Linked DNA regions of Homo sapiens: regions 2 and 3 are each linked to region 1. Evidence: promoter capture Hi-C in human tissues and cell types (Jung and others, 2019). All regions are on one chromosome and are shown on one strand. Each heading gives the region's core, a stretch centred on a gene start or on the middle of the fragment in contact. The rest is flanking DNA. Distances are from core to core; before and after follow the strand shown. Region 1 holds the start of SNRPD1 (small nuclear ribonucleoprotein D1 polypeptide). Region 2 overlaps ESCO1 (establishment of sister chromatid cohesion N-acetyltransferase 1). Region 3 overlaps GREB1L (GREB1 like retinoic acid receptor coactivator).

Region 1 (3,520 bases), core at 527-3,026:
CGTTGGCCAGGCAGGTCCTGAACTCCTGACCTCAGGCGATCCGCCTGCCTCAGCCTCCCAAAGTGTTGGGATTACAGGCGTGAGCCACCACGTCCAGCCTAAAAAATGCACTTTAAATTCTATGACTTCCTATCCAAAGTTATAGTTCAAATAAAAATATACCAAAAATTAACCTTAAATGTCTTTTGTACCAACTCCTCCCTGAATATAATTTTTTTTTTTTTTTTTTTTTTTTGAGATGGAGTCTCGCTCTGTCGCCCAGGCTGGAGCGTAGTGCCACGATATCGGCTCACTGCAACCTCTGCCGCCTGGGTTCAAGCGATTCTCCTGCCTCAGCCTCCTGAGTAGCTGGGATTAAAGGCGCGCGCCACCACGCCCCACTAACTTTTGTAATTTTCGTAGAGACGGGGTTTCACCATGTTGGTCAGGCTGGTCTCGAACTCCTGACCTAGTGATCCACCCGCCTTGGCCTCCCAAAGTGCTGGGATTACAGACGTGAGCCACTGCGCCTGGCCTCCTCCCTGAGTGTTGAAGGCTTTTATGTGTTATTTAAAACGTTTCAAACAAACGTTACTTCAGACGTTATCTACTTGTCTGTCATCCCCACTAACCAGAAAACTCCAACAAGGCAGGTACTCTGCCTTTTAAAAAATCCTATTACCAGCGCCTAGTATGTAACAGGTGCCCAATAACTATTTAGCGGATATTGACAATCCTTGACTCAACAGGAAAAAAACAAGCTAAATATTTATAATTGCTGGCTTAGCTATTAGAAACGTCTGCCTCTGTTCCAGGCTTAGTCTCAAGGAAAAACACCAAAACCAAATCTACTTGCAGGTAGTTTAGAATTATTCACATCAGCAAACAAGTTTTCAGAAGACTCACCTAACTGACAGGGTCTATTTATTTCTTAAGAAATAAAACAGGAGAACTATATATTATCTGAGTAATCAGCCACAATTACGTTGTGATAATTTCTGCCCTATATTGGGAGATTTTCCTAAATAAAAAGCCTACCTTAAAGGGAAATAGAGGTGGAATAATCAATCACAAATCTAAGGAGGATAAAAAGGTAAACTTAAAAATCGGCCGGGCACGGTGGCTCAAACCTGTAATCTCAGCCCTTTGGAAGGGCGAGGCGGGCAGAAAGCTTGAGCCCAGGAGTTCGAGACCAGCCTGGTCAACAAAGTGAGACACCATCTTTATTTAAAAAAACAAAAACTTGTGAAGCCGGAAGTCCTTCTCTGATTTAAAATATTTTGCAAACAGGTTTGTTTCCAGATAAGCTCATACAGCTTTCTAAGTACTGTTAAGCAGGACTGGGGAGTTCCACTCAAAAAGAAAATGAGTAACTGTAAGAGGGAGATGTGTCCCAGGAGGCGCTGCATCTTTAAAGCCTCTAAGTCACTAGGCAGGAAGAAAAGGCTCGGCCTTTATACCAATCTCTTGGAAGACACGCGGGATCCGCGAGCGACCCAGGCGGAAGCCCAGGCCCGAGCACGAGCTGCGGGCGCAGTAAGGCCGGCCGTTAGCAGGCCGCGCACACGCGGCTTTCCCGCCTCCTGCAAATGGGAGAGCCCAGCCTTCCGGACTCCGGGCCAAGCCCTCCCTTCACAGCCCCCAGAGCTGCTTGGTCACTCCCTCACCTCACGAGCTTCATCCTAGCGGCGCCGTCACCCTCTGGGTCCGACAGCACACAGAATCCTTCAACCGAACACTGACCGACTGCAGTATGAATGGCCGGAAGCGCCTACTCCAGGGGCTCCGGACGTCAAGAGCGCGCGGAGCACTGCAGGCGCATGGCGGAAACGCCGAGGCTGCGCTGGGCCGCACTCTCTTCCGGCCGCGAGGAGCGCGACTGCGGCCCCTGGCGGCTGGAGGTTGCCTTGCGACGGCTGAGGGTATCGAGGGCTGGTCTTGGAGAAAAATGTCCTACAAGAGAGGGAGATTCGAAGAGATTAAATCCAATTAATAGGACTGTCGCATTTTGGGAGGCCGAAGCGGGGGTATCACCTGAGGTCAGGAGTTCAAGACCAGCCTGGCCAACAGGGTGAAACCCCCGTCTCTACTAAAAAGACAAAAAATTAGCTGGGCGTGGTGGCGGGCGCATGTAATCCCAGCTACTCGGAAGGCTGAGGCAGGGGAATCGCTTGAACCCGGGAGGCGGAGGCTGCAGTGAGCGGAGATCGCACCACTACACTCCTGCCTGGGCAACAAGAACGAAACTCCGTCTCCCAAAAAAAAAAAAAAAAAAAAAAAGTACTGTCACCATCACGTTTCTGAACAGCAGGGCACTGTGAGTGCAGCACCTAATACAAATTCCTCACTGAACGGAAAGAAGGTCTTAGAGAAGCCCAAAGTCTTATGCTGATTCTGTTCCAACACCAGGAACCTAGCATTGCTTACTGTACCTGAAGCAAATCACACAATGGGCCAGGCGCTGTGGCTCAAGCCTGTAATTCCAGCACTTTGGGAGGCCGAGGCGGGCAGATAGCGAGGTCAAGAGATCGAGACCATTCTGGCCAACATGGTGAAACCCCGCCTCTACTAAAAATACAAAAATTAGCGGGGCGTGGTGATGCGCGCCTGTAGTCCCAGCTATTCGGGAGGCTGAGGCAGGAGAATCGCTTGAACCCAGGAGGTGGAGGTTGCAGTGAGCTGAGATCGTGCCACTGCACTCCAGCCTGGCAACAGAGCGAGACTCCGTCTCAAAAAATAATAATAATAAAAATAAAATCCACAATGTAGCAGATTATTTTCACTTTAAGTTCCAATCTATAAGACAAACTTTTCAGTCTTCATCTTTCTCAACATCTCATCAAAATATATATATTTTTTATTTTTTTGAGATGGAGTCTCACTCTGTCGCCCAGGCCGGAGTGCAGTAGCGCGATCTCAGCTCACTGCAACCCTTGCCTCCCGGTTTCAAGCCATTCTCGTGCCTCAGCCTCTCCAGTAACTGAGATTACAGGCGCGCATCACCATGGCCCGCTAATTATCGTCTTTTTATGTATGTATGTATGTACGTACGTATGTATGTATTTTGAGACAGAGTCTCCCTCTGTCGCCCAGGCTGTAGTGCAGTGGCGCGATCTCGGCTCACTGCAAGCTCCGCCTTCCGGGTTCACGCTATTCTCCTGCCTCGGCCTCCCAAGTAGCTGGGACTACAGGCGCCAGCCACCACGCCCGGCTAATTTTTTTGTATTTTTAGTAGAGACGGGGTTAGCCAGGATGGTTTCGATCTCCTGACCTCGTGATCCGCCCGCCTCGGCCTCCCAAAGTGCTGGGATTATAGGCGTGAGCCACCGCGCCCGGCATTATTGTCTCTTTAGTATGTGAGCTTCATCAAAATTTAACACAAACACTCCCCTTCCCTCTTTCGGGTTTCAGGATGCCAAGCTCACCTGGCCTTTTTCCTTATCCTACTAACTACTCTTGCTTTGTTTTGTTTTGTTTATAGACAGGGTTTCTCGCTCTGTTGCCCAGGCAGGAGTGCAATGGCACAATCAGGGCTCACTGC
Region 2 (3,525 bases), core at 99-2,598, 83 kb after region 1:
AGTACTGTGGCACTGGTCAATTTCTGGTATATAATTTTATTAATGGACAGAATAGCACGTAAAACAAATTCTTGCCTACACCACTAGAAGACATCTATTGAAGAGAATGGATTGGTTGCTGACTTTAACCAGGAACTAGGGCCATTTTTATTACAATGAACTCAGGACTGGCAACAACCATATGGTTGTTCCATTTTCATAAAATTGGAAACAATGCAGTAATAGCTTATTGTTTTGTTTTTTAAAGAAGATATTTTATTATCTTTTACAGAAATTTATGATTGATGTATTTTATCTATAGTTATTTAGACATGTTTACATGCAGCAGATAATTGTTCATAGTGGACTGAAAACTAATGCAAGGACTATGGTCTCAGTGATAAGTATATTTTGAAGTTCTTAATATGGAAATATACCAGTGTAGCTTGGTACTGTATTTTTTTATATTGATCTGCTGATACCAGTGATAGGCTTAAAGATTGTATTTTCACAGAGTGGAAACCAATTTTTTTAGTTATTGTTCAAGGAGGGTGCAATATTAAGTGTTTTGGAATTTGAAGCTAATTTTTAAAAGGCCTGAACTATACTTTGAAGAAACCCCTATAGAAAAGGAAAGCTCCAGCTAAATAGGAAGAATTAGAATATTGAGCTTTTTTTTCCTGATTTTTCTCTTTCCTATCTTTGATGGAAGGAGGAAGTAGAAAGTGGTAAAGAATTGAGGCTTTCCTTCTTGGAGAGCTGTAAATGACAAGCATTAGGAAAGGTACCCTCCTAGATTCATTATTCTTTCATTCTGGTTTCACTTTTAAAATAAATGGCAACTTGGCACACCTAGGCTGTTAACAAATCTCAAAGAGGTTTATAAAAACGTATAGAATACTTGGAAGCAAAGTATGGATGACTCGGTATCTGCTTTGTTATTCCTCAGAAATACTGCACTGAGTATATGCCCTCATTACTGGACTTCATTTTGATACTTGTCTATCCTTCATAGTGCCCTCTACTTTTAAAGGGTTTATATGTTGAAAAACTGCTGTGGCCTTTTATGACCTGTATATAATGTAGAATAAAAATAATAAAATACTTGATAGCTTTTTCTAAGTGACCAATGTACTAACTGAGAATAATGGTGTGTTGTCATTTGTGCTTTTTCAGGGTGTTTTTTTGGTTTGATATCTTGAAATATGATTAAAACATTGGCTTCCTAAAGGCAGTTTCCACCAGTTTGCCAAAGGATCATTGTGTCAGCAGCAAATCAGCTGAACTTTATTTCCAAAGGCAAAATCCTTTCTGATTATTTTAGTAACATAGTACTTTTATGATGTTGCAAATAAATGAAGGGCCCACAGCCCAAGAATGAATTACCACTGTGGTTCAACTTAGGTTATTTTTGTGAGCTGAAATGATCATATCTCAGTTGAAAACTGGCTAAAATTTAGGGCCTTAAATTAACAGGTATACATTTTATTTCCCTATAAATTTTTGCTTTTACAATTTCTAGGCCAGGCGCGGTGGCTCACGCCTATAATCCCAGGACTTTGGAAGGCTGAGGCGGGCGGATCACGAGGTCAGGAGTTCGAGACCAGCCTGACCAATATGGTGAAATCCCGTCTCTACTAAAAATACAAAAATTAGCTGGTTTTGGTGGCATGCACCTGTAATCCCAGCTGCTCAGGAGGCTAAGGCAGGACAATAGCTGGAACCTGGGAGGTGGAGATTGCAGTGAGCAGAGATTGCACCATTGTACTCCAGCCTGAGCAAAAAGAGCAAAAAACTCCACCTCAAAAAAAAATTTTTTTTTCTAGAGTGGTATAAGACTCTACATTTTGTATGGGTAGAATGATAGGGCACGGTAAATATTTCCCCGTGATTCATCAAGCTGGTCTAGCTTTTTTTTTTTTTTTTTTTTTTTTTTGAGACAGAGGCTCACTCTGTCACCCAGGCTGGAGTGCAATGGCATGACCTCAGCTCACTGCAACCTCCACCTCCTAGGCTCAAGCGATTCTCCTGCCTCAGCCTCCAGAGTAGCTGGGATTACAGGCACCTGCCACCACGGCCGGCTAATTTGTTTTTGTATTTTTTAGTAGAAACAGGGTTTCACCACATTGGCCAGGCTGGTCTTGAACTCCTGACCTCACGTGGTCCACCTGCCTCGGCCTCGCAAAGTGCTGAGATTATAGGTGTGAGCCACTGCACCTGGCCCTAGCTTTTGATACTGTCATTTCCCTTTGGGCTTGAGACTGTTCTAGTCAATCCTGGTCTCATTGTTTGCCTGACAGGTACCATGATTTAAAAAAAAAAAAAAAAAACAGAATGAAATTTTGGGATATAGTGTAGACTCTCTAGTAACTGTTAATCCCATAATACAGGTCCAATTTCCATAAACAATAGTATACTACTTTGACTACTTTTGACTTGGTTTCAAGGTGACCTGGAGGTGGAAGAGGGTATATTGGGTGGTTGGTTTATATGTTATTATTACTGAGAAACCAGTTTATTTTCATGTTTATACTGAAGATATAGCCTCCCAAATTTTACAATTTAGGTATTTCTCTAAGAATAGTATTATTAGTTAATACCTAACATTTGAGTGTTTGCTATGTGTCAGACCCTGTGTGTTTAGTCCTGCATTATTTTATGTAATCATTACGACAGTCCTATGAGGTAGGGTTTATAATTGAGGAATCTGGAACTTAGATGATAATTAAGAGCCGTTTGTGTGAAAAGTGTTGAAACACTGAACTAAAGCTGTGATGTGGAGATGAAGACGAGACAGATACACATTGAAAAGATAAAATTGAAGAATTGACACAGTTGAATTGATAGGAATTTATAAACAACCAGAAAAAGATCATGGCAAAGAGGTTAAGGTAAGTGGGAATTTTGGTTTGGGTAATTGAATTAGATTGACAGATGGGAATACAGGGGAATTAGGTTGGGAGGATTGGATGGGGATGTCCTCAGTTTTGGTCAAGATTTTAAGGTGGTTGTAGAAAGAGTCTCTTAAGTGGAGAAACCTTTTAGTATACAATTGGATATGTGAATCTAGAGTTTCAGAAAGGTTCTAACTGAGAAACAAATTTATGAGTTCACTTATTTATTTGAAGGTTCACAAGGTCACCCTGGGGTTTGTAAAATGAGAAGGTAGAAGAGAGTTGTGAGGTACACCATCATTTAAGAGTCTCAAAGAAGACTGCCTAAGAAGGCATGAGCAGCAAGGTAGGAGAGCCAGAAGAGAGTGGTAGAAACCAAGGGAAAAATGTCAAGAATCAAAGAATGATCAACCCTGTCATACCACAGTTGAAGACTGAAGAGAGCCCAAGTGATGTTAGGAAAAGAGCAGTCTCAGTGGAGTGGTGGAGGCAGCAGGGACACGGTGAGTGTACACTAATGGCCACAGACTGTAGAAGAGGGTGAGTCTGTAATTGCTGACTATATAAAGGTGCTTATAGATTTTTTGTTAGCAGCCCTCATGTAGTTGTTGGTTGTTTATAAAAATATCTAGCATAGAGACATGGTAAGAGC
Region 3 (3,796 bases), core at 220-2,719, 110 kb after region 1:
TTTGTTGCCTTTCCATCTTTTGTGCTTAAAGATGCACTAGCCAAAAAGAAGCCACATACTAAGGGTTATTGGCCCATGTTCTTCATTCCTATGTCTCAGTTCTCACTGCATAAAACAAACTGACTCCACTGGCCAAGCCACCCCACGCAGGTGTGAGAATATGACTAGGTTGGTGCAAATCAACAGTCTTGTTAGAATCACAGCTCAAAGGGCACACCCTGTGGATCTGAGATAATAGTGCCATTTTAGTCAGTGCTCCAAAGGGAAGAGGGGGAAACCCTTTTATCAAATATACTGTAATATATGGATTGCAAATAAACACCTCAGCTACTTCCTAACCTAAACATGACACGTGTAACCATTTGAAGAAGTAATTCAAGACACTAAAACTAAGCTGCCTCCTCTCCCTCCCATAATCCAAATAAACCCAACATTCATTTAATTATGGCTTCATGCATTGTGCTTTTTTTTTTTTTGAGACGGAGTCCCACTCTGTCACCCAGGCTGGAGTGCAGTGGCGTGGTCTCGGCTCACTGCAACCTTTACCTTCCAGGTTCAAGCATTTCTCCTGCCTCAGCCTCCTGAGTAGCTGGGATTACAGGCATGTGCCACCACACCCGGCTAATTTTTTGTATTTTTGGTAGAGACGGGGTTTCACCATGTTGGCCAGGATGATCACGAACTTCTGACCTCAGGTGATCCACCCGCCTCGGCCTCCCACAGTGCTGGGATTACAGGGTGAGCCACCGCGCCCAGCCTTCATGCATTTTTCTCACCAATGAGTGGCTCCTTCTTATGAGTAAACTATCCTTTACCAGAGGCCTGAAACTAGGGGCCTTATTTTTCATCCCTCCACCCCCCACCCTTACATACAAAATCCATACTGGGTGACAGAGGGCGAGGGCGAAGGTGGGATGGTACCTGGGAGGCAGAGGTGAAGTCCATGTACTGGCGGCACTGTTCACAGTGGTGAAAGGTGTTATAGGCTGCATATTTGGTCAGCATTATGGATACAGTTTCCCGTTTCCTGGGCTCTTCAACTTTGGATTCCTTTATCACTTCTGTGTATAAAGGGGCAAAAAGCCATCCCATGAGATAACATGTTTTCCCTATGCCTGGAAAGAAAAGTCCCTCTTTCCCCAAAATGACTTTTCCATGTATTCTGTAATTTATGCCCTAAGAAACAGTTATGAAAATTTAAAAAATGATGCGCATAAGAGCGAAAGAAAAGTGAGATGTAAGGCACCCTGAGCTAGTGTCCCCTTAACCCAGAGAGGAGGTGAACTTGGCTGATTGCACTGACCTTGTTTGACCCCTGCCAGCTTCTCAGTATACACCAGGCTCATCAAACTGTACTTGGGGTCATGCACACTGACATCAAAAGGCATTTTACTGAAGCTCTCGATGTCAGGCCAGGGCTCTCCCTCTGACTGGCTCACTTCACTGCTTTCATTGTGATCTAGGACAAGAAGGAAGTGTGCAGAGCAGGTGACTGGCCTCCCTCTTCCCCATGTGTCAGAGAGAATGGCTTTTATGGGACGTAGAGCCCAGATGGGTGGACAAAGGCATTTCTGAAAAATGAGCTCCCCTGTCCCAGTAGAGGAGGCAGAATTGTTCACACCCATGCTGAGAGGAACATTTGCCCTCACTGGCCCCCAGCATTCGTCTCTGCAGACCCAATTCACAAACTCTGGCATCTGTAAGATAACCTAGTCTCCACCAGGCCAAATTTCCTTAAAAGTTTAATTTTGGATGATCTTATTTCTGTCTTGAGATTTTAACTGTGGGGTGTTAATATACTGACACCCAAGAGATTTTAGGATGCACTGAGCAAGATTCCCAATGTCTTCCGCACGTTACAATCAGCTGGGAGCTGGTAAAAATTCCCACACTCAGGCCACACATCCCAGAATAGTTCAGTCAGAATGTCTGACTGCCCAGGATCCAGTCATATTGTTTAAGGCGCCTCAGAGTGTTCCAATATGCAGTCACGGTTGAGAGCCAGTAGACCTGGGTGTGAATCCTGGCCCTACCCCTTACAGCGTCACACCTTCAGGCACTGTACTTAACCCTGAGTCCCCAGATTATAGTAAGCATTAATGCAGCCTCAACCACCTGGGATCAAATGATCCTCCCACCTCAGCCTCCTGAGTAGCTGGGACTACAGGCACGTGCCACCATGCCCAGCTAACGTTTTTGTAGAGGCAGGGTCTTACTGTATTGCCTAAGCTGGTCTTGAACTGCTGGGCTCAAGCAATCATCCTGCCTCAGCCTCCCAAAGTGCTGGAACCGCAGGTGTAAGCCACCATACCAGACCCTTTTCTTTTTGTTTTTGGAGACAGGGTCTCACTCTGTCACTCAGGCTAGAATGCAGTGATGCAATGTAAGCTCACTGCAACCTTGAACTCCTGGGCTCAAGGAATCCTTCCACTGCAGCTTCCTGAGTAGCTAGGATTGCAGGCGTGTACCATCACACCTGGCTAGAGTTTTAAAATTTTTGTGAGAGATGGGGTCTCCCTGCTGCTCAGGCTGATCTCAGACTTCTAGCCTCAAGCCATCTTCCCACCTTGGCCTCCCAAAGCACAGGGGATTACAGGTGTGAGCCACCCTGCCCAGCCAGAGATGGTACATTTAAAGTGCCAAGACACGCTGGACATGGTGGCTCACACCTGTAATCTCAGCATTTTGGGAGGCCGAGGCAGGCAGATCATTTGAGGTCAGGAATTCGAGACCAGCCTGGCCAACCCTGTCTCTACCAAAAATACCAAAATTAGCTGGGTGTGGTGGCACATGCCTGTAGTCCAGCTACTCAGGAGGCTAAGAATCACTTGAACCCCTGAGACGGAGGTTGCAGTGAGTTGAGATCGTGCCACTGCACTCCAGCCTGTGTGACAGAGTAAGAGTCTATCTCAAAAAATAAATAAATAAATAAAATAAAGTGCCTAGACAGTTGCAGGCACACAGCTGGTGTCTAACAGATATTTTTTATGATTGGCCAGGTGCAGTGGCTCACACCTGTAATCCCAGCATTTTAGGAGGCCGAGGTGGGTGGATCCCCTAAGGCTAGGAGTTCGAGACCAGTCTGGCCAAAGTGGTGAAACCCTGTCTTTACTAAAAATACAAAAAACTAGCTGGGTGTGGTGGTGCATGCCTTTAATCCCAGCTACTTGGGAGGCTGAGGCAGGAGAATCGCCTGAACCTGGGAAGCAGAGGTTGCAGTGAGCCAAGATCGCACCACTGCACTCCAGCCTGGGTGACAGAGCAAGACTCCATCTCAAAAATAATAATAATAATAATAATGATAATAAAGTGCCAAGACAGTTGCAGGCACGCAGCTGGTGTCTAACATTATATTTTTTATTAGTGGCCAGGTGCAGTGGCTCACACCTGTAATCCCAGCACTTTGGGAGGCCGAGGTGGGTGGATCACATGAGGTCAGAGTTTGAGACCAGGCTGGCCAAGATGGTGAAACCTCACCTCTACTAAAAATACAAAAATTAGCTGGGCATGATGGCGTGAGCCTGTAATCCCAGCTACACAGGAGGCTGAGGCAGGAGAACTGCTTGAACCCAGGAGGCAGAGGTTGCAGTGAGCCGAGATCATACCACTGCACTCCAGCCTGGACGACAGAAACTCCATCTTAAAATATATATTTTTTTATTATTAATAATAATAAAATGTATAAGATGAAAAAGTAGCTTAAGACAACTTTCAAAGGGAGAAAAGAAACTTTCCAAAAAAGGCTAAAGATTGGAGGTACAGCTAATATCTTTTTAACACATATAATACATTTATT

What was found. The method cuts DNA at HindIII sites, captures the fragments that hold promoters and counts their contacts. A contact is called where the count stands out against the background at its distance.
Region 2: a fragment that was not itself captured here is called in contact with the fragment with the promoter of SNRPD1 in region 1 in 2 of the 25 tissues and cell types used here (dorsolateral prefrontal cortex and thymus).
Region 3: a fragment that was not itself captured here is called in contact with the fragment with the promoter of SNRPD1 in region 1 in 2 of the 25 tissues and cell types used here (lymphoblastoid cells and stomach).

What each region holds. Positions count from the first base shown.
Region 1 is chr18:21,610,570-21,614,089 of GRCh38, reverse strand. It overlaps SNRPD1 (small nuclear ribonucleoprotein D1 polypeptide), which reads right to left and starts at 1,776. Exons shown (of 4, transcript NM_006938.4): 1 at 1,647-1,776. The coding sequence starts at 1,660. RefSeq lists an enhancer at 1,628-1,717 and a silencer at 1,978-2,027. The HindIII fragment of the contact is 13,798 bases long and covers 1-3,520 here.
Region 2 is chr18:21,526,880-21,530,404 of GRCh38, reverse strand. ESCO1 (establishment of sister chromatid cohesion N-acetyltransferase 1) reads left to right here. Exons shown (of 12, transcript NM_052911.3): 12 at 1-1,121. The coding sequence ends at 62. Among named protein-coding and RNA genes, the nearest start is that of ESCO1, 72 kb to the left of the region's middle. The HindIII fragment of the contact is 6,958 bases long and covers 1-3,525 here.
Region 3 is chr18:21,503,075-21,506,870 of GRCh38, reverse strand. It overlaps GREB1L (GREB1 like retinoic acid receptor coactivator), which reads right to left. Exons shown (of 33, transcript NM_001142966.3): 24 at 1,304-1,459; 25 at 922-1,061. Among named protein-coding and RNA genes, the nearest start is that of GREB1L-AS1, 54 kb to the right of the region's middle. The HindIII fragment of the contact is 5,116 bases long and covers 1-3,796 here.